Linked DNA regions of Homo sapiens: regions 2, 3, 4, 5, 6 and 7 are each linked to region 1. Evidence: promoter capture Hi-C in human tissues and cell types (Jung and others, 2019). All regions are on one chromosome and are shown on one strand. Each heading gives the region's core, a stretch centred on a gene start or on the middle of the fragment in contact. The rest is flanking DNA. Distances are from core to core; before and after follow the strand shown.

Region 1 (3,895 bases), core at 1,341-3,840:
TTTAGTAGAGATGGAGTTTCACCATGTTGGCCAGGCTGGTCTCGAACTCCTGACCTCAAGTGATCCGCCTGCCTCGGCCTCCCAGAGTGCTGGGATTACAGGCGTGAACCACTGCACCCGGCTGACTCATGCTTCTTTAAGGACACTCTTCGGCTGGGCACAGAGGCTCACACCTGTAATCCCAGCACTTTGGGAGGCTGAGGCAGGTGAATAGGAGTTCGAGACCAGCCTGGGCAACATGGCAAAACCCTGTCTCTATACTAAAAATACAAAAATTAGTCGGGCCTGGTGGCAGGTGCCTGTAGTCCCAGCTACTCGGGGAGGCTGAGGCAGGATAATTGCTTGAACTCGGGAGGCGGAGGTTGCGGTAAGCCAAGATTATGCCACTGCACTCCAGCCTGGGCAACAGAGCAAGATTCCGTCTCAAAACGAACAAAAAAAACCCATAAAAGTCACTCTTCTTCACAATATGGGGAGTTGGGGACCAGCTAGAGGTTTGGGGCTGGCCCTCTGCTTGGTGGTGGTTGGGATGGTCCCATAGGGGAGCCACTGTGGCCCAGAGGCCTGAGCCGTGTGGGCCCGGGCCTTGTTTACTGGACTGTGGGCTTCCTGGGTGCTGGGCCTGCTCCCAGGGAGTGGCTCCTTCCCAAAGCGTCCCTTTGCCTTGGGAGCGGAACCACGCAATAGCCTGACTGGCCCTGGCAGCCCATGCCTTGTGGCCAGTCACCAGAGAGGGCACACGAGACCCAGGCCAGGGGTATCAGGGACAGCCCCTGGTCAGACTCTGCTAGTTTCCCTGCCTTTCGCTACGTGGCTGGACCACAGGGGAAGAAATGGCAAGAAACCGTGTCTAACTCTCCCTTGATACAAATTCAAAGTTGGCTTGGGGGATGGCCACCTTTGGGACACACACCTGGACAGATCTAAGCCAGCAGCGTGGCTGTTTGCTAGGCACTGTTCTGTGCCTGGGGCTTAATTTACAGAGGTACGGCTGAATGACCATGAGGAGAGGCCAAAGCCATCGCAAGATTGATCGCATTTCCTGAGAGAAGGGGCACCCATGCCATGCACGGTTCTCAGTAGAGAACCCCAGGTTTGGTCAGGAGGCAGAAGCAGGGGCGAGGGGAGAGCCCAGGCCTGAGGCTTTCTTGGGGTTTCCATGGAAAAGGCCTGGCAGGGCAGGGAAAGAGTTTAAAATTGGCTAGTTTGAGTAATTCTAGCAGGCTCTGGGCTGCAGAGTGGTCTCTAGTCACCTGATACCTGGCCCTGGGTGACTTAGGGCAGGGAGAATCTTGCCTCCAAAGGCGAGAATTAGATAAGGAGGTAGCTGGGGCTGTAGACTTGGGGTCTTTTTTTTTTTTTTTTTTTTTTTTGAGACAGAGTCTCACTCTTTCCCCCAGGCCGGAGTGCAGTAGCGTGATCTTGGCTCACTGCAAGCTCCACCTCCCGGGTTCACACCATTCTCCTGCCTCAGCCTCCCGAGTAGCTGGGACCACAGGCGCCCGCCACCATGCCCGGCTAATTTTTTGTATTTTTAGTAGAGACGGGGTTTCACCATGTTAGCCAGGATGGTCTCGATCTCCTGACCTCGTGATCCACCCGCCTCGGCCTCCCAAAGTGCTGGGATTACAGGTGTGAGCCACCGCGTCCGCCCGGGGTTGTCTGTTTTGTATATGAAAAGCATGCTCTGCCCCGAGCCTTAGCTATCTCTCTCTCTTTTTTATTTTTGAGACGGAGTCTTGCTCTGTGGCCCAGGCTGGAGTGCAGTGGCACCATCTCGGCTCACTGCAACCTCCACCTCCCGGGTTCAAGCGATTCTCCTGCCTCAGCCTCCCAAGTAGCTGGGATTACAGGCGCCCGCCACCACGCCCAGCTGATTTGTTGCATTTTTAGTAGAGGCGGGGTTTCACCGTGTTCGCCAGGATGGTCTCGATCTCCTGACCTCGTGATCTACCCGCCTCAGCCTCCAAAAGTGTTGGGATTACAGGCGTGAGCCACCGCGCCCGGCTGGAAATCCATAATTTCAATGGATCAGAATTTGCCTGTCACGTTCTCTGTGCCAGGCACGGAGCGGGGGGGCGGCAGGGATGGAACCCGGCACATGGGCCTCTGCCTCCTTGGCGCGCTGTAGGCGCGAGCCTAAAGTCATCAGGCGACAGCCCCCGCCACGTTCCGGGGCGCCCCGACGGCTCCAGCAGCGGGTGGGGTGGGAGGCGTCCGGACAGTCCGGAGGCCTCGATGGCCAAGAGGAGCCTGGGCTGGAGGGGGCCAGGCCCGGGGGCGGCCGGGGGAGGGCCCGGGACTGGCGCAGAGGCAGCGCGAGGCAGAGGCAAGCACTCGGACGAAGGCGCAGCCCCAGCCTCGGGGTGCGGAACGGGCACCTTCCGGGCCACTTGAGTCTGAGACCTTGTAGCCGGCTCGAGGCCCGGGCGCAGCAGTCCCTGCCAGCCAGCTTTCGGCGCAATGGGACGCGGGCGCTCCTGGTGTGCCGGCCTCGGGCCCTGCACCCTCACGCATGCGCGGCCCCCCCCCCCCCGGTGGACTACAACTCCCGGCGTGCCCCGCGCGCCTCCCGGAAGTGATCGCTCCGGTTGCCTCCGACCTCGGCGCTGGGCGGGCGCGCCGGGCCTGGGGAAGGGGCGGGCGCGGGGACCCGATGCGCGGGAGCGGAGGCCGAGATGGCTTCGGCGGGAGGCGAAGACTGCGAGAGCCCCGCGCCGGAGGCCGACCGTCCGCACCAGCGGCCCTTCCTGATAGGGGTGAGCGGCGGCACTGCCAGCGGGAAGGTAAGGGGCCGAGCGGGCCGGGGTCTCGCCTCTCGCCGGTGCCTACGGGCGGCCCGGTCCAGAGAGGAGACCCCAGCCCCGGCCGAGGGGCCCCCTGCCAGGCAGGGGCAGGGCGCGGGAGCGAAGGGGCTGCAGGCCGCGATGGGCCGGGGCGGGCTGGGGCGGGCGAGGGGTTGGGGCGCTGGGCCTCGGGGCTCCCCCACAGCCTCTCCGCCGGCCGGGCTCCTCGGAGCCCCAAGTCCGTGCTAACCCCGTTGGGCCCCCGCGGCCCTTCCGCTGAGACCATCCACACCTGTTGGTGTCCTCCCGCCTTCCGAGCATACCCCCCAGGGGGCGGGTGGGTCAGTGTCTCCAGAAGCCGGCCCCGTGCCTGTCACAGGACGAGCGGTTCCAGGCGGGAATCCCGCTTCTGTGTCTCCAGTCGACCGTGTGTGAGAAGATCATGGAGTTGCTGGGACAGAACGAGGTGGAACAGCGGCAGCGGAAGGTGGTCATCCTGAGCCAGGACAGGTTCTACAAGGTCCTGACGGCAGAGCAGAAGGCCAAGGCCTTGAAAGGACAGTACAATTTTGACCATCCAGGTAAATCGCGAGCCCAACGATGTGGGGAGGGCAGACCCCATTCTGGGCGGCCGCTAACCAGCTGCGCTTGGGCCCAAGGTTGGATGGATGCAGACCCGCTTGGGCTGTTCCCCCAACTCGCCACGCAGCCTGCAGTGGAGTTGGCTGCACAGTGAAGTCAGGGGAACTTTGCTGAGTTCTCTGGGCCCTGAGTGTCCCCCCAGGAGCGTGGTTGGAGCCAGTCAGGAAGCCTGTTGCACTGTGGGGAGCCCTGCCCTGCCCTGCCACAACTGTGATCCTGGAGAAATCCTCCCATCTTCCCTTCCCACGTTGGGGCCTTTAGGGCCCTCCACACACACCTCTGCCCACTGTGCCCTCCCGTGCTTTGGGGCAAAGTCCTCAGAGAGGCCAGTGTGGGAGGCGGTAGGTAAACTAGTGCTGGTGGCTTGAAGCTCCGGGCCAGGTAAACGGGCAGATGCGGCAGGGAGACACCTGCCACTGCTAGAAGATTCCACCCTGGCTGGCTGGCATGGTCAGCCTTTTCCCAAG
Region 2 (3,733 bases), core at 953-3,452, 320 kb after region 1:
CTAGGTTTTTGTTTGTTTGGTTTTTGAGATGGGGACTTGCTGTGTTGCCCAGGCTGAACTAAAAAACTGACTAGTTTTTGATTTAGGAGTTTAGAAGGGCAAATCAGGATAGAAAGTTTTGCTAACTGCACAGGCCTTAATATTAAGGAAACATCTGTCATGACTGCAGAACACTAGCTCATGATTCATGGAGATCTCACACAGCACAACAGATGAGAGAAACTTCATGTAGGGCACATTAAATGAGAGAAGCTGAGACAAACAGGACAGGCTCCCAACTTCTAATCTCAGCTTCCGCCTGAGCAGCAGGATAAAGATCTACACAAACAGATTTCTTTCATTTCCAACCATGAATACACAGGTCAACAAATAACTTTTAAGGCCGAGCACGGTGGCTCACGCCTGTAATCCCAGCACTTTGGGAGGCTGAGGTGGGCGGATCACCTGAGGTCAGGGGTTCGAGACCAGCCTGGCCAACATGGTAAAACCCCGTCTCTACTAAAAATACAAAAACTAGCCAGGCTTGGTGGCAGGTGCCTGTAATCCCAGCTACTCGGGAAGCTGAGCTGGGAGAATTGCTTGAACCTGGGAGGTTGCAGTGAGCCGAGATTGCACCACTGCACTCCAGCCTGGGTGACAGAGCAACACTCCGTTTCAAAAAAAAGGAAAAAAAAAAAAAAAGCCTGGGCGTGGTGGTTCACGCCTGTAATCCCAGCACTTTGGGAGGCCAAGGCAGGCGGATCATGAGGTCAGGAGATCGAGACCTCCTGGCTAACATGGTGAAACCCCGTCTCTACTAAAAAAAATATAAAAAATTAGCCGGGCTTGGTGGCGGGCACCTGTAATCCCAGCTATTCAGGACGCTGAGGCAGGACAATGGCATGAACCCGGGAAGTGGAGCTTGCAGTGAGCCAAGATCACGCCACTGCACTCCAGCCTTGGTGACAGAGCAAGACTCTGTCTCAAAAAGAAAAAAGAAAAAAAAAAAAAAAAGAATTTTTAAAATTAGCTAAAGAAGGCTGGGCATGGTGGCTCATACCTGTAATCCCAGCACTTTGGGAGGCCGAGGCGGGCGGAGAAGTTTGAGACCAGCCTGGTCAACATGGTGAAACCCTGTCTCTACTAAAAATATAAAAATCAGCCAGGCGTGATAGCACGTGCCTGTAATCCCAGCTACCTGGGAGGCTAAGGCAGGAGAATCATTTGAACCTGGGAGGCGGAGGTTGTAGTGAGCTGAGATCACGCCATTGCACACCAGCCTGGGCAACAAGAGTGAAACTCTGTCTCAAAAAAAAAAAAAAAAAAAAAATTAGCTAAAGAAAGTACTGGCAGATACAGCTTCAGATGAAAATAAAACAAAAATGTAAGAGGTGAGAAATATTAAAGGCTTCAACTTTTGGGTGACATCTCCCTACAGGAGCTGAATTTTAAGGAAAATTTGGAGAGTACTATCCAAATGAAAGTCTGCATGCTCTCCTCCCAGCATCCTCGGCTTGCTCTGCTGCTGCTCATTTATGCTTGTCTGCTTGCATTCACTTCAAGTCACTCCAATACTAAGAAACAGAGCGATTTGGGCCTTGGGAGAGAAGAGGGGAGCAGCTCAATACACAGATCCTCTCCCTGCAGCTCTGATATCTTTTCATGATTATATAGGACATCTCATTAAAAAACCAAAAATAAAAAAGCAAAACAGATCACACTGCTTTGGGGAAGATATTTTAAATGAGCCTTCTAGATTTTTTTTTCTTTTTATATTTGTCACTGAAGCTTTGATAACACCCTAAGAATGACAATGGCATTAGGGGACCAAGGGACTGGGAAAAGTCTTCTCAACTTACTTGAGGTAGCTGTGGATCCAAAGCCCCCACTGGCCGAGCTGAATGGGTTTTTGTTGGCTGCATCCTGACTGGGTTTTCCTCCAAGGCCACTGAAGAAACCTCCCCCTCTTCCAGTGTTTCCAGACCCAAACACGCTACCACTGGAAGAGGATGATTGCTAAAAAACAAAAGGGTCAGGAAGCAAGATAGGATGAGAGGTCATCGTGAAATGGCAGGCTGCATCCGTGGGCAGGAGGTGCTCACAGCTGGCACAAATGGAAAAAGCAAGATTAGTTCTGGTACAAATGCTCTAACCACCACAAAAGAAGCTAGACTCTGGACAGGGACTTCCTATCTATGAGAAGTTCTCAAGCTATTCCATGTTCACAGTTCTCTGAAAACATGATTTATGGTAGGTGGGAACTTTTAATGTTTATCTGCTACACTGCCCGCAGTGTCTGTTTGACACAATGCCAGGGTCAGGAAAACCAACCCCACAAGAGATCCACCAAATAAAAAGTTCGAAAACATTTACAAGCTATTACGGACACCACTTATTCTGATTCCTCCAGCGTTTGGCTGAACTCATTAGCAATGGATGATAAGTGATTTTCACTGTCTTTCTCTCCATTTGTGCACTTTTATTTCATAATGACTTTCCCAGTGCTGCAGAAGTAAGCTTAAATTAGCTTCATTGTTGAAATGATGACCAAAGCTGAATTCTGTCCAAGTTTGCAAATCTCATGCTCAGAGGATGCTGCTAGCACAGGGGCAAATGCTGACTCGAGGCTGTGTCAGGTCCCAGACACTTAACTTCTCTGGAAGCTGGTTCTTAAAGAACAACTGGGCTACATTTGAGGGGCCATTCACCTTAGTTAAGTGTCATCTCTCCGTGGCTGAGAATGCAGAATAAGATGGACTTTGGAAAGGGGCCACTGTGCATAGAAACTTGCAAGAGCAGAGCGGTGCTATGGATCCTCTCCTGTAAAATGGTGGTAATAAACTACCCATCTCAACACAGCGGAGAGTGAATTACGTGAGCCAAGAAATGTAACACACTTTAGAACAGAGCCTGAAACAGACTTATATGCTCAAAAAATGGTTGCTGTTCAGTGTTTTAACCACAATGAACCAAAAATCAAGCACTCTGTATGTGCTAGGCACATTCCTAAGTATTTTCTAAGTAATCACTTAATCTCTACTCATCAAACCTCCAGTGGGCCACTTCTGAAATGCCCCCCACCCCCTAGGGTATCCCCTCCTTTCTACTCTGGTCTGAGCCACCTAACCCCAACCTTTTGCCCAGACTATGCAACAACTTAGCTGGTCTTTTGCTCCCACTACAGTCTACGTCCACACAGCAGCTGGAGCACTACTTGCAATGGCAGTCACATCATTTCACTCCTGTCTACCAATTCTAGAAGGCCCAACATGATCTGTCCCTTTTCCACTGCTCTGACATCATCTTTTATCATCCTCCCCCTCACTCAGGGCAGTCACACATATCTTCTGTGCCTCAAATACAACAAGCTAATTTCTGTCTTAGGGTAACATACTTAATGTACTTCCTAGTCTCTTTTTTTTCCCCCTTTAAATTTCTTAACAACAACAACAACAACAACAACAACAACAACAACAGTACCAATTCACTACAACCATTTAATGGTGAGTCACAGCTTTTAAAAACTAGGAATCCAATTCAGTCCTAACAGCATTGGCCCTGATAACTAGTAAACTGCCATGGAAAGTTAGAAAACCTAACAATGAATGCATGCATGTGGAAGGTATTTGACTGCTTAGCTGACGTCCATGCATCAGGCTGAAACACAGAAAATTGCCAGTATATGAGCATTTTGCCTGAAAAAGCTCAGAAACCTCAAATGGTTCAGCTTAATTTTTAAAATGTGATTTGACAG
Region 3 (3,783 bases), core at 491-2,990, 430 kb before region 1:
CCTGATAATGAAAGCAGAAGTAATCACTTTAAAATCTATACTTCAGTTTAATTTTAAAATTATCCATTTGCAAGTAGCCATTGAGCATTTTTTGTTGATTCACAGTGGTGGTGTCATGGGGGATACATTTAAGAGAGATTTATTGGGAAGGTACAGTTCCGAAAATTGTACCATGCATTTCTGAAAATTTTGAATTAACACCCACAAATTGGAATGGCCTAGAGTTTATATTTTGAATAAACTTATGGCATATTTATTCAAGCACAAAGATTTTTGTACAGAGTAAAGAACAGTGTAAGAAAGTATTCAATTACTGATAGAACATTAATGATAGCTACTGCATATCAAGCACATATCATATGCTAGACCCTGTGCCAAGCACATTACATGCATGGTTATTTAGCGATGCTGTGAGTGAAATAGTATTGTTCCTCTTTATCAGATGAAGAAACTGAGATACAAGAAAGTTAATGCCACACAGCTAGTGAAGAGTGAAGATGGTCATAGCTCTGGTGAGCATCCAGATAGTACTTGCTACGTGCTAGAGTCCAAGTACTCTGCATTTTTTTAGTCATTGAGTCTTCCAGAATTCCTGTGAGGTTGATATTATTAGGTATTTTTTGTAAAGGAGGAAACTGAAGCACAGAGAGGTTAAGTGACTTGGCTAGGGTCACATAGCTAGCTCAGGTCCTGCCAGAGCAAGGACTTGAACTTGGGCACTGAAGCGTCGGGAGTCCGGGTCCTTGTCCACTAGATCATGCCACCCAGCATCAGTATAGTGACTGACAGACTCCAAAGCTCTTGCTTTCAACCATTTCATTAAAAGTGATACTAGAAGAGTACAAGGGATCCTAAGTAAAGACATTTTAAACTTGTTGTTTTTTATGTTAGGGATAACATTGGGTTTTTAGCCATATAGCATGTAACCTGAAATTCAGCACAAATAAAGCTTCCTCTTGCCTGGTCTGTGAAATCTTGAGTTTAGGGACCATTAGTGGAAATACACTTCCTTTTCCTTTTCCCTTTCCTTTCCTTTTTTTTTTTTTTTTTGTGACAGGGTCTGGCTCTTTTGCCTGGGCTGGAGTGCAGTGGCACAATTATGGCTTACTGCAGCCCTCCTGGGATCAAGTGATCCTCCTGTCCCAGCCTTCTGAGTAGCTGGGACTACAGGCACATGCCACCATGCCTGGCAAATCAGTTGCTTTTGGTTTTGTTTTGTTTTTTTTTTTTTTTTAAAGAAACAGGCTCTCACTGTGTTTCCCAGACTGATCTCGAATGCCTGGCCTCAAGCAATCCTCCCACCTCAGCCTTTCAAAGTGCTGGAATTACAGGTGTGAGCCACCACCCCTGGCCAAAATGCAGTCTTTATTCTTAGGCGTCAGACCATACTGCAAGGTGGAAGTCCTCTCTGGGATGCGCATGGTTGCGAGCACTAAAGACTCCCGGGTCTCTGAAGGTCACCTGCTGTCTTGCTGATGCTTGGTTACTTTCCAATGGTGCGTTATATTTTGCAAAACAATACTCTGAAAAAGTGTTAATTTAAAAAGAGAATTCCCAGCGGGTGGTGGTGGTGATACAGGTCTAAAGTTAGTGACATGTTTTTATCAAAAATTTGAAATAACATTTATCAAGAAAGGGGAACAGCCTAGGGTCTGTTAAGTGGAATCCTTTATTTTTTGTTCAAGAAAAAGTGAGGTGATGCCTTGCAACATAAGGTATCCCAGGACTTTAATCGACATGTAGACTCCTAAGAGGCAAAGCCAGACTTTCATCTCACTCAGCTCTGCTGTGGTGTCACCAGAGAGCCGGTGGCTCTGAACCATAAGTGACAGAGAAGGACCAAGAGCAACAGATCCAGCATCACTGCCTCTCCTTGTGGTTATTGAGCTGATCTCTTGGAAAGTCTTTAGTGGCTTTTCAACTTGAAAAGAACAGATTTGAAATAAATAAATTGATCCATTAACCTGTTACAGGAAGGTTCCCACTGTGCTGAGTACCCCCAAATCATCTCTGATAAGGTTGACTAAGCCACACTCTAATAGATTTCAGAGTAGTATGTGGACCGTAAAATGACCATTAACCAGCTTGCTTTGTTCATGAGAGTCAGGCACTTAATGCCATGGCCTCGCGCTAGAAGCACATTCCACTGTGGTATGTTTCAACTCTGTGAAGTCATTGATCAGATGAAAATGACCAGTTAGCAAGTAAGTGTTTCCTGGGCTGTAGGCTTTATGAATAATGTGTTCGTCAGTTAAAATCAGCACTTTAAGCAATTGTTTAAACCTAACCATTTGGGAATGAGGGAGAGAGCTTCATGAATAATTTATTTTCAGAAGAAAAGATTAAGGGATCTGAACTTTTTCACCTTCCCAAACCTTTTTGACTTAAGTGAAACTACCTGCAAATGCTGTAAATCCAGATAAATAAAAGTCATAATGCATACACAATGTATGTAAGTTTATTGTACTTTCACTTTTAAAAAGCCTTTATTGAAAAGGTGTAGGCATGTAAATACAATGAGTTTAAAATAAGAACTGAGTATGGAATTGCTGGAAGGGTTGTGGGATTTTAGATGTAGCGTTGAACATGCATTAGCATAGTACCATGGGAAAGCTTAAAATATGGGTAATATGTCCTTGTATCGGAAAGGACTTCATCAAAGCAGACCAGTTTGATCCCTTGTGCTTAAACATTATGCCTTCCACTTTCTAAAACAGACCGCTGTCTTATAAGAATTGCACGTCCTTGGTTCAAGGTTTAAGTAAGAGAATTTAGGATGGGGGTTAGGTATCAATATCACCAATCCAAATTCTCCTTGCCGCCTTCTTTCTCTTGTTCTTATGTTATTGAAAATACCCAGTTTTGTATTTGTGGTCCTGTCTGATACTTGGCTAGAGTGATTTGTCTTAGTGGCTGAAATTTTCATTGACCATCTTGGCAGTGAAGGAGTTACTGAAGGCACAAAGGAGCCTGAATATTACTTCACAGGCATAATACCAACACTACCACCACCACCACCATCACTATCACCTCCAGCATCACCACCACCATCACCATCACTACTACCATCACCTCTACCATCACCTCCACCACCACCACCATCACCTCCACCACCAGCACCAGCACCACCACAATCGCTATCAACCACCACCATCACTGCTGGCAGCTGTTATTTATTGAGTGATTACTCTGTCAGACACTGTTCTAAGCACTTAACACTGATTACCTTATTTAATCCTAACAACCTTCTGAACTAGGTGCAACTACAATCTTCATTTTATGAATGAGGAAACTGATGCTCAGAGTGATTAATTACTTCCCCAGGTTCACTGGAGCCCATATTTTTAACCCTTTCAGCTTCTATACCACCTTCTCCACTCTCCTCACAATCAGATCAGTACTTACTCTGGGTGGGTAGTCAACATCATAGAAGGGCACACTCACTTATTCACTATTCATTTTTTAACCCCCGTAATAAATTGGAACGCAGTCAAGAACCAAGAAGTATGGAGAGGAGGCCTAACCGAAAGTGCTGTTATGGGTTTCCCATACTGTCAAAGACCCTCTCACAAAGCCCATTTTCTCCGGGTTGTCAGGGTAACGAATTTGGAAACATGCAGCGCACATACTAACAACAGCTAGGAGCCAATGCTTATATAACAAGAGAGGAGATGGACAGAACTATAAATATAAAGCACAGGAGCCGATGCTCATAACATTCACAAAAGTTAAGTTGTTTTCTCGTTAGGAATAAATGTAAGTATATCTTTGTTTTAAAAAGAT
Region 4 (4,075 bases), core at 1,101-3,600, 360 kb after region 1:
GAGAGCTACACGACACTTTTACGCTGCACTGGAGGTTCTAGCCAGTGAAGTAAGGTAAAATAATAATAATAATAATAATGATAATAATAATAACAAAAGGACTGGAAAGGCAGAAACGTCACCATTAGTATCCATGGAGGATTTCATTGTTTCCATAGTTACAAGGCCAAGAAACAGCTACAGACGTGTTAGAATAAATGAATTCTGCCAGGTTGTTGGCTGTAAGTAAATACACATAAATCAATGGTATTTCTCGATACTACATCCAACATAAACCATAAAATTTAAGGAAAAAAAATCTACCATTATAAGAGCAACAAATTTTTGCAATTAAATTTTTAGCAATTAATCTAACAAAAGATGTGCATGTCTCCCACGCAGAAAACATTAAGAGAAATTAAAGAACACCCAAATATACAAATATGTACCCAGTTCAGGAACTGAGAGTTCACTACTGCACAAATGTCAATTCTCAAGTTGATCTAGAGACTCAATACAATTCCAATCAAAATCTCAACTTTCCTTTGAAGGCTGAGGAAGGCAAAATTCCTCCCCCAAAACTTTCTTTTTTTAAAGACGGAGTTTCGCTCTTGTTGCCCAAGCTGGAGTGCAACGGCATGATCTCGGCTCACTGCGACCTCTGCCTCCCGGGTTCAAGCGATTCTCCTGCCTCCCTTCTTTTTTATTTATTTATTTTTTTATTGTGGTAAAATATACATGACATAAAATGCACCATAGTCACATTTTAAAGTGTACAGTTCCATGGCATAAATACATTCCTAATGTTGTATAACCGTGACTACCATCTATCTCCAGAACGTTTTCATCTTCCCGAACTGAAACTTCATCCCCATGAAACACTAACTCCCCATTTTCCCTCCTCCAGCTTCCGGCAGCCACCATTCTAGTTCTGTCTCTATAGTTTTGACTACTCTAGGTACAGGGAGGTAGAATTTAACAAGACAATTTTAAGGTTAATATGAAAATGTAAAACACCAAGAAAGGCAAAACATTCTAGAGCAGGAGTCAGAAAACTACAACCATAGACCAGCTGTCTCTTTGCAGAAATATAAAGTTTTGCTGAAACACAGACATGCCCCTCTCATCACATGGTCTGTGGCTGCTTTCCCATTACAACAGCAGAGTTAGGTAGGTGCAATGGAAACCACAGCACCTGCAAACCTCAACTATTCTCCAGCTGGCCCCTTACAGAAAAATCTGCCAACCCCTACTCTGAATTGTAGAACTTTCTGCAATGATGAAATGTTCTTTATACGTGTTTGCCATTACAGTAGCCATTAGTCACATGTGCCTACTGAGCACTTGAAATGTGGCTACTGGGATTGCAAAACTAAATTTTAAATGTTACTTATTTTTCTTTTTAAAATTTATATATTTATCTGAGACAGGGTCTCACCACTCCTTTCCCAGGCTGGCCTCGAACTCTTGGGCTCAAGTGATCCTCCTGCCTCAGCCTCCTCAAAACAGCTGGGATTACAGGCATGCACCACCTTGCCTTGCAATTTTATTTAATTTAAATGTAAGCAGAGGCTGGGCGTGGTGGCTCACACCTGTAATCCGAGCACTTTGGGAGTCTGAGGCAGGCGGATCACAAGGTCAGGAGATCGAGACCATCCTGGCCAACACGGTGAAACCCCCATCTCTACTAAAAATACAAAAAAATTAGCTGGGCTTGGTGGCACGCAGCTGTAGTCCCAGCTACTTAAGAAGCTGAGGCAGGAGAATTGCTTGAACCCAGGAGGCAGAGGTTGCAGTGAGCTGAGATCATGCCACTGCACTCCAGCCTGGCAACAGAGCGAGATTCTGTCTCCAAAAAAAAAAAAAAAACAAAAAAAAACAAAGTAAGCAGAATACCATATTGGACAGAACACCTCTAGAATCTAGCAAGAGAACAGTATTGAGACTTATTTGAGCACTAATTAAGGCAGTGTGGCAGTAGTGCTTTCTAATCAGTGTATGAGACCAACAAACATACATGTATAGGGATAAACGATTTATAATAAAAGTGGCCCTGCTAAGCAGGGAGGAGAGTCTTTTCAATAAATAGTGTTAGGACAAGCAGATATCCAAACACAAAAAAATGACACATGAGCCATACCTTATATCACACACAAAAATCAATTATTGATAGGGTGAACTAAATATATCTATACAGTGGAATACTGTTCAATGACAAAATGGAATGAACTAATGATACATGGTACATATCATGGGTGAACAACAAAAACATGCTAAGTGAAAGAACCTAAACCCAAACACTATCAGACTCCATAATATATGCAATTTCTTTAAAAAGGCAGATCCAAGAAGAAAGAAAGCAGATCAGTGGTTGCTTGGGTAGAACAAGAATTGACTGCAAACAAGCTTGGGGAAACTTTTTAAGTGATGGAAATGTTCTAGAACTGAAATGTGGTGATGGGTATACAATTCTGTAAACTTAGTAAAAAGCACCCAGCTACCAGCAGGTGAGTTTTATATGTAAATTATACCTCAATAAAGTTGATCCAATTGTGAAAGACAAACTTAAATGTTTCTGGAAGATAATAAAGGTGCATACCTACTTTCATTACCTAGAGATAGAGGATTTCTTAAACAGAACACAAAAAGTACTAACTATAAAAGAAAAGGCTGATAAATCTCACTATTTTACAATTAAGAACTTCTGCTCACCAGGCTGGGCACAGTTGCTCACATCTGTAATCCCAGCGCTTTGGGAAGCTGAGGCAGGAAGATCACGTAAGGCCAGGAGTTCAAGATCAGCCTGAGCAATACAGCAAGACCATGTTCCTACAAAAACTAAAAAAATTATCTGGGCATGGTGGCCTGGCCTGTGCCTATAGTCCCAGCTACTCAGGAGGCTGAGGCAGGAGGATCGCTTCAGCCACGGAGGTTGGGGCTGCAGTGAGCTATGACTGCACCACTACACTCCAGCCTGGGCAACAGAGCAAGAGTCTGTTTCTAAAAACAAAAACAAAAACGAACTTCTGTTCACCAAGACATAATTAAGAGGACAAAAAGGCAAAGTGAGTATCTGCAACTCACAAAACCAACAAAGGCTGGTCTCCAGAATTGATAAAAACATGTACAAATCAATAAGACAGAGTATTCAATAATAAATGAATGAGCAAAAGATTTAATTCGGTACTCCACAAAAGAACATATCCAAATGGTTAAAACATTTTACAAAAGAGTCCTACCAGAATAGTTAAAAGAAAAAAGACCGACAATATCAAGTTTGGCAAAGATGTGGAACAACTGTAACACTCATTTACTGATGATAAAGTACAACCACTTAGTAAAACCGCCTGGCAGAGTCTATGAAAGCTGAGCATATGGACAGACTATGAGCCAACAATGCCACTCCTAGCTATGTAACCAAATGAAAAGTACACATGTGCTCCGAGAGACACACACGGGAATATTCAGAACCTTTTCTGTAATAGCTATAAACTGAAAGCAGCACATGTCCAACAGGAAAATGAATAAACAAATACAGCATATTCATACAATAGAATCCTATACAGAGCAACTAAAATAACAGCTAGAGGCAACAACACGGATGGATCTTACAAGCCTGATGTGGAACAAGAGAAGCCTGTCCAGAGACTAAGTGAATGGATTTATGTGGTATGCAAAAACAGGCAAAACCAAATCATAGTGTTTTGGGAGGTATGCTTACATAGTAAAGCTCTGAAGGAAAACAAAGAAAAGGCGACTAAAGAGAATGACAACTTACACAATGCAGAATCCTGGATTGGATCCTAGATCCAATCAACGTGTAGGGGTAAGTGGGACAGCCGGCAAAATTTGAGTATCAACTGTATATGAGATAACTGTATACGTTAAATTTCCTGAACCTGCAAACTGTATTATGGTGTGTAAGAGAGCACCTTTGTTCTTGGGAGGACACATGCTGAAATATTTAGGAATAAGGGGCGTTGTCTTCAGCTTATTCTCAGATAGTTCAGCAACAATTGTGGCAAACAGTAGTAAACATATGGGTGAGGGGTAAGTGGGTGCTTACTGTACTCGCAATTGGAAGTTTCAATTTTTT
Region 5 (3,831 bases), core at 256-2,755, 380 kb after region 1:
CTGCTTTTCTGCAACAGCAGGCTGAAGTGACTTTGCCTGAAATGGAAGGAAAAGGTTTAAAAACTGCAAGTCATAGCTTCTACAAGCAATTATATCAGAGCCTATTACAGGGAGTGGCGCTCCTGTAACACAGTCATTATTTCTTCACTCATTGTAACGAATCCTTATTTATAGGGTCTCTACTTTGTGTAAGGCATGTTCTAGACAGTGCAGGTAGAGGTGAACAAGTAGATGAGGGCCCAACTCTTATGGAACTTACCTCCTACTGGGACATGTTGAATAATAAAATATAAACACATCTGATAATTTCAGTTGGAGAACAAACAGGGAAACATAAAGAGAATAAAAAAGGGCACTACTTCAGATGAGATGGCCAAGAAAGCCCTCACTGCGGGCTGCCATCTGAACGGAGGCTGCAAGCAGAAAGCAAGCTATGAGATCTTCAGGAAGCACCTGCCAGGCACCAAGAAAGGCAAGTGCAGAGGTCTCAAGGCAGGAGAAACCTTAGCAAAGAAAAAAAGTAAATGTGGGCTCTGTGAAGTCAGGGGAGGCGTTGTAGAGGGCAGGGGTAGAGTCAGGAAGGCAGGCCGGGGTAGGTCATATAAGGTCACACCAAGGAGTTTGGGTTCTATTCTAAACGTGTTGGAAAGCTACTACTGGTGTTTTACAAGAGTTTAAATCTCCTTTATGATTTAAAAGATCCCTCTTGCTGCTATGTAGAGCAGGGATAGCAGAGAGAGTAGTCGAGAGGTTAACAAGGTGAGAGGTGCAACAGCTTGACACAGGATGCTAGCAGGGGGACAGAGCTGTGGGCTTATGACATGTGACACAGCAGAGGGTGGAGCTGACAAGACCTCCCGCCAGCCTGGACTGGGGACAGGTACTGTTAAAGAGAGGGATCTAGGATGCTTCGGGGCTTGGGGCTTGTGCAAACATCTGGTTTGTTAGTGCTACTTACCCATTGGAAAAGGACTAGCCTCTAGGGGAGACAGAAATCAAGAGTTCTGCTTTAAAGATACTATAATTTGAAATGCCCTTTAGACTATTTGATACTTACAACGATTAACACTAGAGAGGTCTTAGACTGCATCAGCATTCATTAACAGCAAACATTTATTTGACAAACACTGTATGTCATGCATCATGCCACACCGTGAACTGTGACCTGGGCACTTACTATGTACCTAGTACAGGTGTGTGTTAGGGTACAAGGGTTGGTTAGAGGGACACAGAAAGGAAAAGACATAACGCTTATTCTCAGGGCACTCAAGTAATCACGTGGGAAACTGACATACAATTCTCTTTACATTATACCATAAAAATAAACTGAGATGATGGACTACAAATCTAAATATGAAAGATAAAATAATAAAGCTTTTAGAAAAACATCTTTTTGACCTTGAAATAGAAAATTATTTCTAAAACATGAAAAGCATTAATCATAAAAGAAAAAACTGATATACTTAATTATATTAAAATGAAGAATGTGTATTCATCAAAGAAACAAAAAAGACAATGAATAGACAATTCACAGTGAGAACATATTTGCACTGTATGTGTGTGCGTGTGTGTGTGTATTCAAGGAACTCACTCTTAAAAATCAGAAGGAAAAAGCCAGACAATCCAACAGAAAAACAGAATAAAGACATGAACAGACACAACATAAAAGAAAATATTCAAATGGCCAATAATCATCTTTTAAAAAGCTTAATTTTGCTAATCATTAGAGAAATACAAATTAAAACCACAAAACCATACAACAAAAGATGAAAAATACCAAGAGTGGCAAGTATGTGGAGCAGCCAGAAGTCTCATACACTCTTGGTGGGAATCTACTAATGAGGAATACATGCAGATTCTATGACCCAGCAATCTCACTCATAGGGATACACCCAAGAGAAACTTGCATATGTGTTCATTGAAGATGTCAACTGGAACGGTCATAGCAGTGCTACATACAATGGCTTAAACCTGGAAACTACTCAAGCGCCCATCAGAGTGGAACAAATAGTTGTAATATAATCACACAATAAATTCCATACAACGACATGGATAAATCTCACAAACATAATGTTGAACAAAGCAGCCAGATACAAGAATACATACTGTACAAATCCACTTGATAGGAGGTACAGGCAGGCTAACCTCATCTATGCTGTTGGAAATCAAATCAGCTACTCTTTGGCAAGAGTAGTGACTAGAAGGGGACAGGTGAAAAAGAACTCTGGGGTTCTGGCCTCCGCCTCCCGGGTTCAAGTGATTCTCATGCCTCAGCCTCCTCAGGAGCTGGGACTACAAGTACGTGCCACCACGCCCGGCTAATTTTTGCGTTTTTAGTAGAGACGGGGTTTCACCATGTCGACCAGGCTAGTCTCGAACTACTGGCCTCAGGTGATCCGCCCGCCTTGGCCTCCCAAAGTGCTGGGATTACAGGCATGACCCACTGTGCCCAGCCAGGTTCTCGTAAAATTCTGTTTCTTGATCTGGATGCTAGTTACCAAGGTATGTTCAGTTGTTGACAATTCACTGAGCTGTACATGTATCATGTGTACTTTTTTCTATTTGTATTATACATGAATAAAAAATTAAAATAGCTAAATGGCTTTTACGAGTATACAAGTATTCAAACCTCGCACTTTGGTATTTACTATCACATAGTCCCAATTACTATGTCCAAGGTCTGAATTATAAAACATGAAAACTCATTTTATTCATAGGTATGCTTGGGGCAGTAAATTAATAAACACAAACATTGCAAGCTGAATTTAAACATACCTGGGGAGAGCCTGGCTTTGCCGCTGGAGGGGTTATCCTGGGTGATTTCTGTACCATTGAGGGCACTGGGCTTGAACTGCCCTGAGCAGATCGTCCTGCTTGAAAAAGAAGTCAGTTAAAATAGATGGCATTTATTACCTTTATTTCTCCTATCACAAATGTCCTTTCTCCAAATCTAAGAAATTAAGTTACACATTGCCCCTGGCCCACTTTCATGATTTATTTTAAAGAGTGATGACCACCAGTTGTGCTAGCCTCTGTTCTAAGATAATGAAAAAAATATATTAAAATTTTAGGAGCCAGGTATGGTGGCTCAAACCTGTAATCCTAGCCTTTTGGGAGGCTGAGGCAGGAGGATTGCTTGAGCCCAGGAGTTTGAGACCAGCCTGAGCAACATGGCAAGACTTTGTCTCTACAAAAAAATTTAAAAATTAGCCGACGGTGGTGGTACATGCCTGTAGTCCCAGCTACTCAGGAGGCTAAGGTGGGAAGATCGCTTGAGCCCAGGAGGTAGAGGCTGCAGTGATGTGCTTGGGTGAGAGAGTGAGAGGGTCTCAAAAAACAAAACAAAACTTCCTGTTTACAGTATGACTGACTGTGAAAATATGAATATAATCACTGCAGGTACTCTCTCCTCTGTACTTTTTTTTTTTTTTGAGACAGAGTCTCGCTCTGTCGCCAGGCTGGAGAGCAGTGGCGTGATCTCGACTCCCTGCAATCTCTGCCTCCTAGGTTCAAGTGATTCTCCCGCCTCAGCCTCCTGAGTAGCTGGGATTACAGGCACCCACCACCACACCTGGCTAATTTTTGTATTTTTAGTAGAGATGGGGTTTTGCCATGTTGGCCAGGCTGGTCTCGAACTCCTAACCTCCGGTGATCCACCTGCCTTGGCCTCCCAAAGTGCTGGGTTTATAGGCGTGAGCCACCGCACCCCGCCAAACAACTCTTGTGCCTGTGCTTCTTAAAGAACTGTTATGTAACTGCTCTTCATGGAGGGCAGGCTCCATATGAAAATAAATGCCCAAGAGCAAGGCATTTTTGACTCATTAAATACAC
Region 6 (3,900 bases), core at 118-2,617, 340 kb after region 1:
ACTTAAATAGGCAAGTCCTGATATCCAGTCTCAAATTCTGATCTCTAACACAAACTACTCATCTCAGAGACAGATGTAAGAGTAGTGAGAGAAACCAGAACTTCTTAGGAAGAGTTTCAGCACTAGCCTGACTGACCTTCCAACCATCCCCTATCACTTTTTTCTGGATTGTTTAACTGTTTGCAATATCACCTATTTTTCTAAGGGACAATGTTTATCAGGCAAAAGCCTGAAGCTAGACAAGCTAGACATAACATCACTAAAAATATGCAAACTCTGACAAACAGGGATTGCAGGAGAAAACCAGATAACCTATACCCCAGACATTGATACTCAACTGTGTAGTGAAACGAGCAATGGACAGGAGGAAGTCAGAAGCCTTGGGTCCCAGCTCTGGTTCCACCATTTACTAATCGTGAGAGTTTGCGTTGGTCACTCAAGCCTAGGCTGCCTCACCAGTGAGACATATCTAAACACCTATCCTCCCACTGTACACGGCTGTTGTATGGGTTAACTGAGATAATGTGAAAGTAAACTGCAAAGCAAAATACTTCATATAAAAATGTATGGTATTAGAATTATGACCCCAAATTACTAGGTGCAGAATGTTTAAATGGCCTATGAAGACAGTATCAGGTCCTGACTGACCTACCCTGATTAACAGCCATGTCAAGACTGGCATAAATTGTGGGGAAGGGATTATGGGCCTTTATCAGACTTATGGTTCATTTAAACAAAGTCAAGACTTAAAAACAGTATGGTCTTCACTTACAAAGACAGACACGGCATGAATGTTAAAAGTAAAACTCAGGCCGGGTACGGTGGCTCACACCTGTAATCCCAGCACTTTGGGAGGCCGAGGCAGATGGATCATCTGAGGTCAGGAGCTCGAGACTAGCCTGGCCAACGCGGTGAAACCGCGTCTCTACTAAAACTACAAAAATTGACTGGGCATGGTGGTGGGTGCCTGTAATCCCAACTACTCAGGAGGCTGAGCCACGAGAATCACTTGAACCCAGGAGGCAGAGGTTGCGGTGAGCCAAGATCGCACCACTGCACTTGAGCCTGGGCGACAGAGTAAGACTCTGTCTCAAAAAAAAAAAAAAAAAAAAAGTAAAAATCAGTAAGTTACCTGCTTGGCTTGGTTAGCAGCCACTGGGGTCAACACTGGGTGAGGTGTTTTGGCTGTGGAGTAGGGCACTGAAGAACTGAAAAACACACAAAGCATACACTCAGAGAAAGGCATGACTAGGTAAAAATCACATTCATTCTCAAGCCAACCTTCTGTCCAATATACAATACCAGTTTTGGGTAGGATACAGATGCATGGGACCCCAATACAACTGATTTGACATTTTTTTTGAAGGATAAATTTTAAAAATGAACTTTGGGTTTTTAGCATGAAAGTCAAAGCAGTGGCCTTATAACTTATTTCCTTTCTGCAATCCAAAGAAAAAAATTAGTAACCATTCAGAACTAGATCTTTTTGCTATCCAGAGTATAAGCCCTCCTCCTCCCTGGCCCTTCCCCCTGTTGTAGACCACGAGAAATTCCTGATTCTCTTACCCAAGCAGGCTCTATGGGAAGCATTCTCACTGCCACCTATGCATCCAATTCGCTGCTACCGCAAAGGTGCTATCCAAAGAGATCTTAGCTTCTCACAGCAGCTATCTCCAGGGCTCACCAGGTCAGCATCCAAGGGATTCAAATGTACCACTGTTCCATTCCCAACCTGCATCTTTGCTACAGCATGAAAAGTATACCCCTATTCGCAGAAAGAGCTCTCATCATCTTTTGTTAACTCTGAAGTAGGTGAATACTGTATGTGAGGAACTGTTATTTCAATAACTAGTGTTCACATATGGGAAAACTACCTGTTAGTGTAATCACACACAAAAGTTCTTGGCTCCTAGCGGCAATTTTTTCAATTTATCTGTTGTCAGCCCAGCGCTACTCTGACTGGTATATATAGCAGTAGTAGTTGTAGGACCTGGTTATTTTTCAGAACTCCCCTAGATTTAGGGAGGATTCATATTTTCCATCAAAAATGAACTTAGAAGATAAAAGATAGGCCTGTGCCTCACGGAAGAAAATTATCAAACAGCTTAACAAACCTTACAAGCATATTGAGATTCTCTGCTGGAATAACAAGGGGACCTTCCTAAACAGACTTTATTAGATTGAGAGAGAAGAAAAAGTGAACTTATGTTCAATGAAACAAAACCCGTTTCATGCTTCTACTGAAGCCAGAAGCAGCTATAAATATGCATCTCTCTGGAGAAACACATCTCTGTTCCCCTGAGATAGTTTACCAAGCAGGCAATACAGATACAGTGTTCCCCCGTCACCTCCGCTGAATCTGTACCAGAGGAAAAGAATGTGTGAGTGAGACTGCTGGGCCCTGAGCAGTACCTGGACAGACACAGCAGACTTGCTTAGAGAAGAGGTTGGAGCTCACAAGGATTACAAAGGAAAGGAAACTCTTTCATGCTTTCTCAAAGACAAACAGAAATCAGAAATAAAAATAAAAGCAGCAATTTATCCAAATTTTAGAAAATTTTTTACAGCCAGAATTCAATTGTGACATGATAGTAAATTATGCATGAATAAGACTGAGTGTAATTATTATTCTATTTATTTGTGATAATTCTATGTATCTCCTGAGTATCCTAAATCCCCAAATACACAAAATTAGGATTCACAGTACCTACACACCACGTGACACCCCTGCAAAGAAATGCTGTTCAGTGCAATCAGCCAGTAAACCAATTAACAAACCAGATCCAATAAATCTCTTATCAAGATCCAAGACAGCACACAGAAAAAAACAGTATACTCTCAAACAAATATGTTCAAACGTTTTTGCATGAGCATGAACCAAAACAATGGAAATCAATAGCTAGAAATGATCAAGAGATAGAAAAGCCAAATTCAGAAGTATCCATATCTTAGGTGACTTTATTCCACTTTTTAGCAATATGGAGTTGAAAAATATCAGAAATTCATCTTGATATTTGTTCTAAGAAGAAAATGGTGCTATAACAGAGCCCCAAAGAGACATCTCTTTACTGAGTGAGTCTACAAATGACACTGACATTGCCAGCAACACTAAAGTTCCTGCTTCAGAAATGAGCGACAGAGGCACAGATCACTAAGAGTCTGGAAACTCGGGTTCTTGGAGAAAAATAAAACACAGAAGAGTCATTTTTTTCTGTTTTTGGCCACACATTACCAGCACTACATGCCAACAGAGGCAGACAAATGCACACATGTTCCATGGATGTGTACTCTACACACAATTATAAAATTGGGTTGTGAAGCATTAAAATGTCACCTAGGCCCTTTGCTATTGATCCCTCCAACTTTAATGAACTTCAACAAGGTAAATACTCATCCCATTGTTGTAAAAAGCCTCAACTTCTTGTAACTTATTTCAGGATTTTAAAAAGCATAAAAAACAAGAGACCTGGTTATGTTTTATTTTGGTAAATCTTAATCACTATCACATGTATCTTTTCATACATACTCATATATGAGAGAGTGGAACTTATCAAGAGTAACTGAAGAAACAAAGAAATCAACAGGGAAAAAGAATGAAAATGATAGAAGATACTGAAAACAAACACTCTATATTCAATTCTTGGGCGTTTTTGACATCTGTCGATGGAAATATAACTGCCAACTATTTTCTCCATTGGTAAATTTAATGTCTTCAAAGACACATTCTTTAAAATAGTATCCAAAAGTCTGTTAAAGCAAATTGTATTTCCTGCATGAATGTTTAGATGCTAAGTAACTTAAATAATTAAGACGGAATTGCATTAGAGCTTTGAAAAAATCCACATTAAATATGAAAAAATAGGCCAGGCACGGTGTCTCACGCCTGTAATCCCAGCACTT
Region 7 (3,656 bases), core at 305-2,804, 280 kb after region 1:
CCCTGTTGACCCTGGACGATGGAAACTTTTTTTTTTTGAGACGGAGTTTCACTCTTGTCCCCTAGGCTGGAGTGGAATGGTGCAATCTCAGCTCACTGCAACTTCTGCCTCCCGGGTTCAAGCAATTCTGCCTCAGCCTCCTGACTAGCTGGGATTACAGGCGCTCCACGCCACGCCCGGCTAATTTTTATATTTTTAGTAGAGATGGGGTTTCACCACGTTGGCCAGGCTGGTCTCGAACTCCTGACCTCAGTGATCTGCCCGCCTCGGCCTCCCAAAGTGCTGGGATTACAGGCTTGAGCCACTGCGCCCGGCCGATGGAAACTACTAAATGCAAGCGAACACGTCGGAGTGAATGAACTCCATCTCTGTGCCTGTGTGCAGGGAGGTGAACCCGAAATCAACATGGGAACTGGCGAAGGCCAGCCCAGCTCCCTTCAGGCCCAGACGGCACGACTTGGAATGCAGAGGCAGGATTAGTTCCTGTATCAGCCTGAGCCCTGGTTCTTATTTCATGTTCCCTTTTCAATCAGACAGAAGAAGGGTGGGTGTTTACGGCGGGCCAGACACAGCTGGGAGCCCTGCACTATTCCTGGCTGCCACTTGCCTTGCTGAGTGAGGCCAGGCTTGTCGCTCAACCTCACATGCCTGAGTTTCCTAATCGTCAGGCCAGAGACACGCACACTTACCCTGTCCTCCCCGGTCCGGGGCCCAGCAAAGGCATAGCAGTTGTGCTCCGTGTTAAACATGCAAATGGAGCCCCCAGAATAATCACACTGAGCACCAGGGCTTAGCTCAGAGACCAGGGACTCTTCTCTCTAAATACGGCTCAATTCTTCTGCAACATCTAGACCACAGGGGCCTGGCTTAGTGATGTGGGATTCTCAGCATCCATGACAAATGCAGACTGAATGCTGGTCAGACAGTCACACAAACGTATTAAAATGCTTTACCTCAGCTTTATTGGGATACAGTTCACATACCACACAACTCACCTATTTAAAGTACGGTTCTGGCTGGGTGTGGTGGCTCCTGCCTGTAATCCCAGCACTTTGGGAGGCCAAGGCGGGCAGATCACCTGAAGTCAGGAGTTCAAGACCAGCCTGGTCAACATGGCGAACTCCTGTCTCTACTGAAAAAAATACAAAAATTAGCAGGGCATGGTGGCACACGCCTGTAATCCCAGTTACTCAGGAGGCTGAGGCAGGTGAATCACTTGAACCTGAGAGGTAGAGGTTACAGTGAGATTGCACCACTGCACTCCAGCCTGGGTGACAAAGACTCCATTTAAAAAAAAAAAAAAAAGTGTACGGTTCTGGCCGGTGCAGTGGCTCCTGCCTGTAATCCCAGCACTCTGGGAGACCGAAGTGGGAGGATCTTGGGCTCAGGAGTTTGAGACCAGCCTGGGCAACATAGTGAGACCCCATCTCTACAAAAAAACTTAAAAATTAGCCAGGCATAGGCCAGACTCAGTGGCTCATGCCTGTAATCCCAGCACTCTGGGAGGCTGAGGCAGGTGGATCACAAGGTCAGGAGTTCAAGACCAGCTTGGCCAAGAGGGAGAAACCCTGTCTCTACTAAAAATACAAAAATTAGCTGAGTGTGATGGCGGGCGCCTGTAACCCCAGCTACTCGGGAGGCTGAGTCAGAGAATTGCTTGAACCCGGGAGGCAGAGGTTGCAGTGAGCCGAGATTGTGCCACTGCACTCCAGCCTGGGTGACAGAGTGAGACTCCATCTCAAAAAGCTAACAACAACAACAAAAATTAGCTGGGCGCGGTGGCACATTCTCGTCATCCCAGCTACTCAGGAGAATGAGGTGGGAGGTCGAGGCTGCAGCGAGCCCTGATCGTGCCACCGCACTCCAGCTGGGCGACAGTGAGTCCCTGTCTCACAAAATAAAAGCAAATAGAAAGTGTACGGTTCTATGGTTTTAGTATATTCACAGATACGTACAATCACCTTGGCCCAGTTGGGCTCTAGAATAAAGTAACCATAGACCGGATGCCTCGTCAACCACAGAAACCAATCCTTCACAGTTCTGGAGGCTGGAAGTCCAAGATGAAGGCGCCCACAGTTTCTGCGTGGTGAGGGCCACCTCCTGGTTCACAGAAGCGCCTCCTCGCTGTGCGGTCATGTGACGGAGGCCGGAAGGCAGGTCCCACAGCCTCTGGGGAAGGAGAGCCCAGAGTAGCTGAGGAACTGGGGTGCCCACACCAGCCTGCTGGGGGCTTCAAATGTTCTTTTAGGAGTGACAAGGGAATCGACCTGCCCAGCTCTGCAGCCCTGGGGGCCACAGAGGACCGGGGCACAGCCGGCGCCTCTGCTCAGGGCTCCGGCCTCCATCTCTGGGAGCGAGCACCCGTGGATGCCTCACTCCACCCAGGGTCACTGTCGCGCAGCAGCAGCTTTCCAGAAGGCAGCCGGCCATTGACGAGTGACCAGGCGGAGACGGTGAAGGCCAGAAGTTCCTCCAGAGGCCGCGTGCCAGCCCCTCGCCTGTGAGGGGGGCCTGGGTCTCCGGGCTCCCCAGGACGGTGCTTCCTCTTGCAGCTGGGCCTGGAGGCCGGAGAGGGTCATGTGAGCCCTCCTGGGCGGGCGGTGCCTCTACGGCTGTGACCTTGAGCAAGTCCCCCTCCTCTCAGGTCTCGGTTTCCTAGGACATGGAGTGGGGACGGAGGTGGTTCCTCACCTCACGAGATTGCGGAGGCACGTGAAGCCGATGGTCCTGAGCTTCTGGACAAGTGCCCAGCCCAGAGTAAGCGCTTAGCAAATCCGAGTGATTCGGCGGCACCACTGAGCCTCGGTTTCCTCATCTGCAAGACAGGGTTACGCTTTCCTCACAGGGAGGAGGGTTCCGGGGGGTCATCAGGCAAGGCCCTCAGCACAGAACCGCCAATAGCTAACACCTATTATTGACCTTGTTGTAACAGGATGATAAAATGGTTTTCTTGACTGGGCGCCACGGCTCATGCCTGTAATCCCACCACTTTGGGAGGCCAAGGCAGGAGGATTACTTGAGCCCAGGAGTGGAGACCAGCCTGGGCAACATAGTAAGACCCTGATCTCTACAAAAAATAGAAAAAATTAGCCCAGCGTGATGGGGCATGCCTGTAATCCCAGCTCCTCCGGAGGCTGAGTCAGGAGGATTGCTTGAGCCCAGGAGTTCAAGGCTGCAGTGAGCTGTGATTGCACCACTGCACTCCAGCCTGGGTCACACAGCGAGACCCGATCCCTGCCCCACCCCCCACCGCCCAAAAAGCTTTTATTTGCTGCCCCAATTTTAGCTGAGACTTTGAGAGGACAAAACAATACAAGGGGTGAGGTCCCCCACCCCACAGGCCATCTTGCTGGACATGCTTTGAGGCTGTGCAGCGCCGTGGCCGGCATCTGTCCCGGGCCCACTTGGTATAAATGAGGCAGATAGATGAGGTGGGTGGAAGAAAGGCCCCTGGCCGAGCTGCTCATGTGGACCACGTGTCCCTTGGAGGGTGGGCTGCCTCCTTCCTGGTTGCAGCCTGACCGAGGTGGGCAGCCAGTGCCTAAGGTTTGATCCGTGTTAACCGCAATCACTGTCATTGGACTCATCATCAAAAGCATAGGTGCGGCCGGGTGCGGTGGCTCACGCCTATAATCCCAGCACTTTGAAAGGCCGCG

What was found. Contacts are between HindIII fragments. The study calls those that stand out against the background at their distance.
Region 2: a fragment that was not itself captured here is called in contact with the fragment with the promoter of UCK1 in region 1 in 3 of the 25 tissues and cell types used here (dorsolateral prefrontal cortex, hippocampus and spleen).
Region 3: a contact is called between a fragment that was not itself captured here and the fragment with the promoter of UCK1 in region 1, in 4 of the 25 tissues and cell types used here (aorta, bladder, dorsolateral prefrontal cortex and 1 more).
Region 4: a fragment that was not itself captured here is called in contact with the fragment with the promoter of UCK1 in region 1 in 2 of the 25 tissues and cell types used here (dorsolateral prefrontal cortex and spleen).
Region 5: a fragment that was not itself captured here is called in contact with the fragment with the promoter of UCK1 in region 1 in 4 of the 25 tissues and cell types used here (H1 embryonic stem cells, IMR-90 fibroblasts, dorsolateral prefrontal cortex and 1 more).
Region 6: a contact is called between a fragment that was not itself captured here and the fragment with the promoter of UCK1 in region 1, in 2 of the 25 tissues and cell types used here (dorsolateral prefrontal cortex and spleen).
Region 7: a fragment that was not itself captured here is called in contact with the fragment with the promoter of UCK1 in region 1 in 4 of the 25 tissues and cell types used here (H1 embryonic stem cells, IMR-90 fibroblasts, aorta and 1 more).

The regions. Positions count from the first base shown.
Region 1 is chr9:131,529,958-131,533,852 of GRCh38, reverse strand. UCK1 (uridine-cytidine kinase 1) reads left to right here and starts at 2,590. Exons shown (of 7, transcript NM_031432.5): 1 at 2,590-2,786; 2 at 3,208-3,367. The coding sequence starts at 2,679. RefSeq lists silencers at 2,185-2,354, 2,495-2,854, 3,055-3,104 and an enhancer at 2,520-3,433. The HindIII fragment of the contact is 11,870 bases long and covers 1-3,895 here.
Region 2 is chr9:131,213,474-131,217,206 of GRCh38, reverse strand. NUP214 (nucleoporin 214) reads right to left here. Exons shown (of 36, transcript NM_005085.4): 31 at 1,839-1,995. Among named protein-coding and RNA genes, the nearest start is that of FAM78A, 61 kb to the left of the region's middle. The HindIII fragment of the contact is 4,973 bases long and covers 1-3,733 here.
Region 3 is chr9:131,963,651-131,967,433 of GRCh38, reverse strand. The region is part of intron 3 of MED27 (mediator complex subunit 27); the gene reads left to right. Among named protein-coding and RNA genes, the nearest start is that of MED27, 110 kb to the left of the region's middle. RefSeq lists an enhancer at 1,858-2,359. The HindIII fragment of the contact is 3,909 bases long and covers 1-3,694 here.
Region 4 is chr9:131,166,808-131,170,882 of GRCh38, reverse strand. All of the region lies in intron 21 of NUP214 (nucleoporin 214), which reads right to left. Among named protein-coding and RNA genes, the nearest start is that of NUP214, 43 kb to the right of the region's middle. The HindIII fragment of the contact is 5,096 bases long and covers 1-4,075 here.
Region 5 is chr9:131,146,529-131,150,359 of GRCh38, reverse strand. It overlaps NUP214 (nucleoporin 214), which reads right to left. Exons shown (of 36, transcript NM_005085.4): 14 at 2,776-2,870; 15 at 1-36. Among named protein-coding and RNA genes, the nearest start is that of NUP214, 23 kb to the right of the region's middle. RefSeq lists a silencer at 284-578. The HindIII fragment of the contact is 3,709 bases long and covers 1-3,359 here.
Region 6 is chr9:131,184,597-131,188,496 of GRCh38, reverse strand. NUP214 (nucleoporin 214) reads right to left here. Exons shown (of 36, transcript NM_005085.4): 25 at 1,133-1,208. Among named protein-coding and RNA genes, the nearest start is that of NUP214, 61 kb to the right of the region's middle. The HindIII fragment of the contact is 5,069 bases long and covers 1-3,900 here.
Region 7 is chr9:131,251,208-131,254,863 of GRCh38, reverse strand. No RefSeq gene overlaps it. Among named protein-coding and RNA genes, the nearest start is that of FAM78A, 23 kb to the left of the region's middle. RefSeq lists enhancers at 481-982, 2,178-2,227 and a silencer at 1,934-2,250. The HindIII fragment of the contact is 9,598 bases long and covers 1-3,656 here.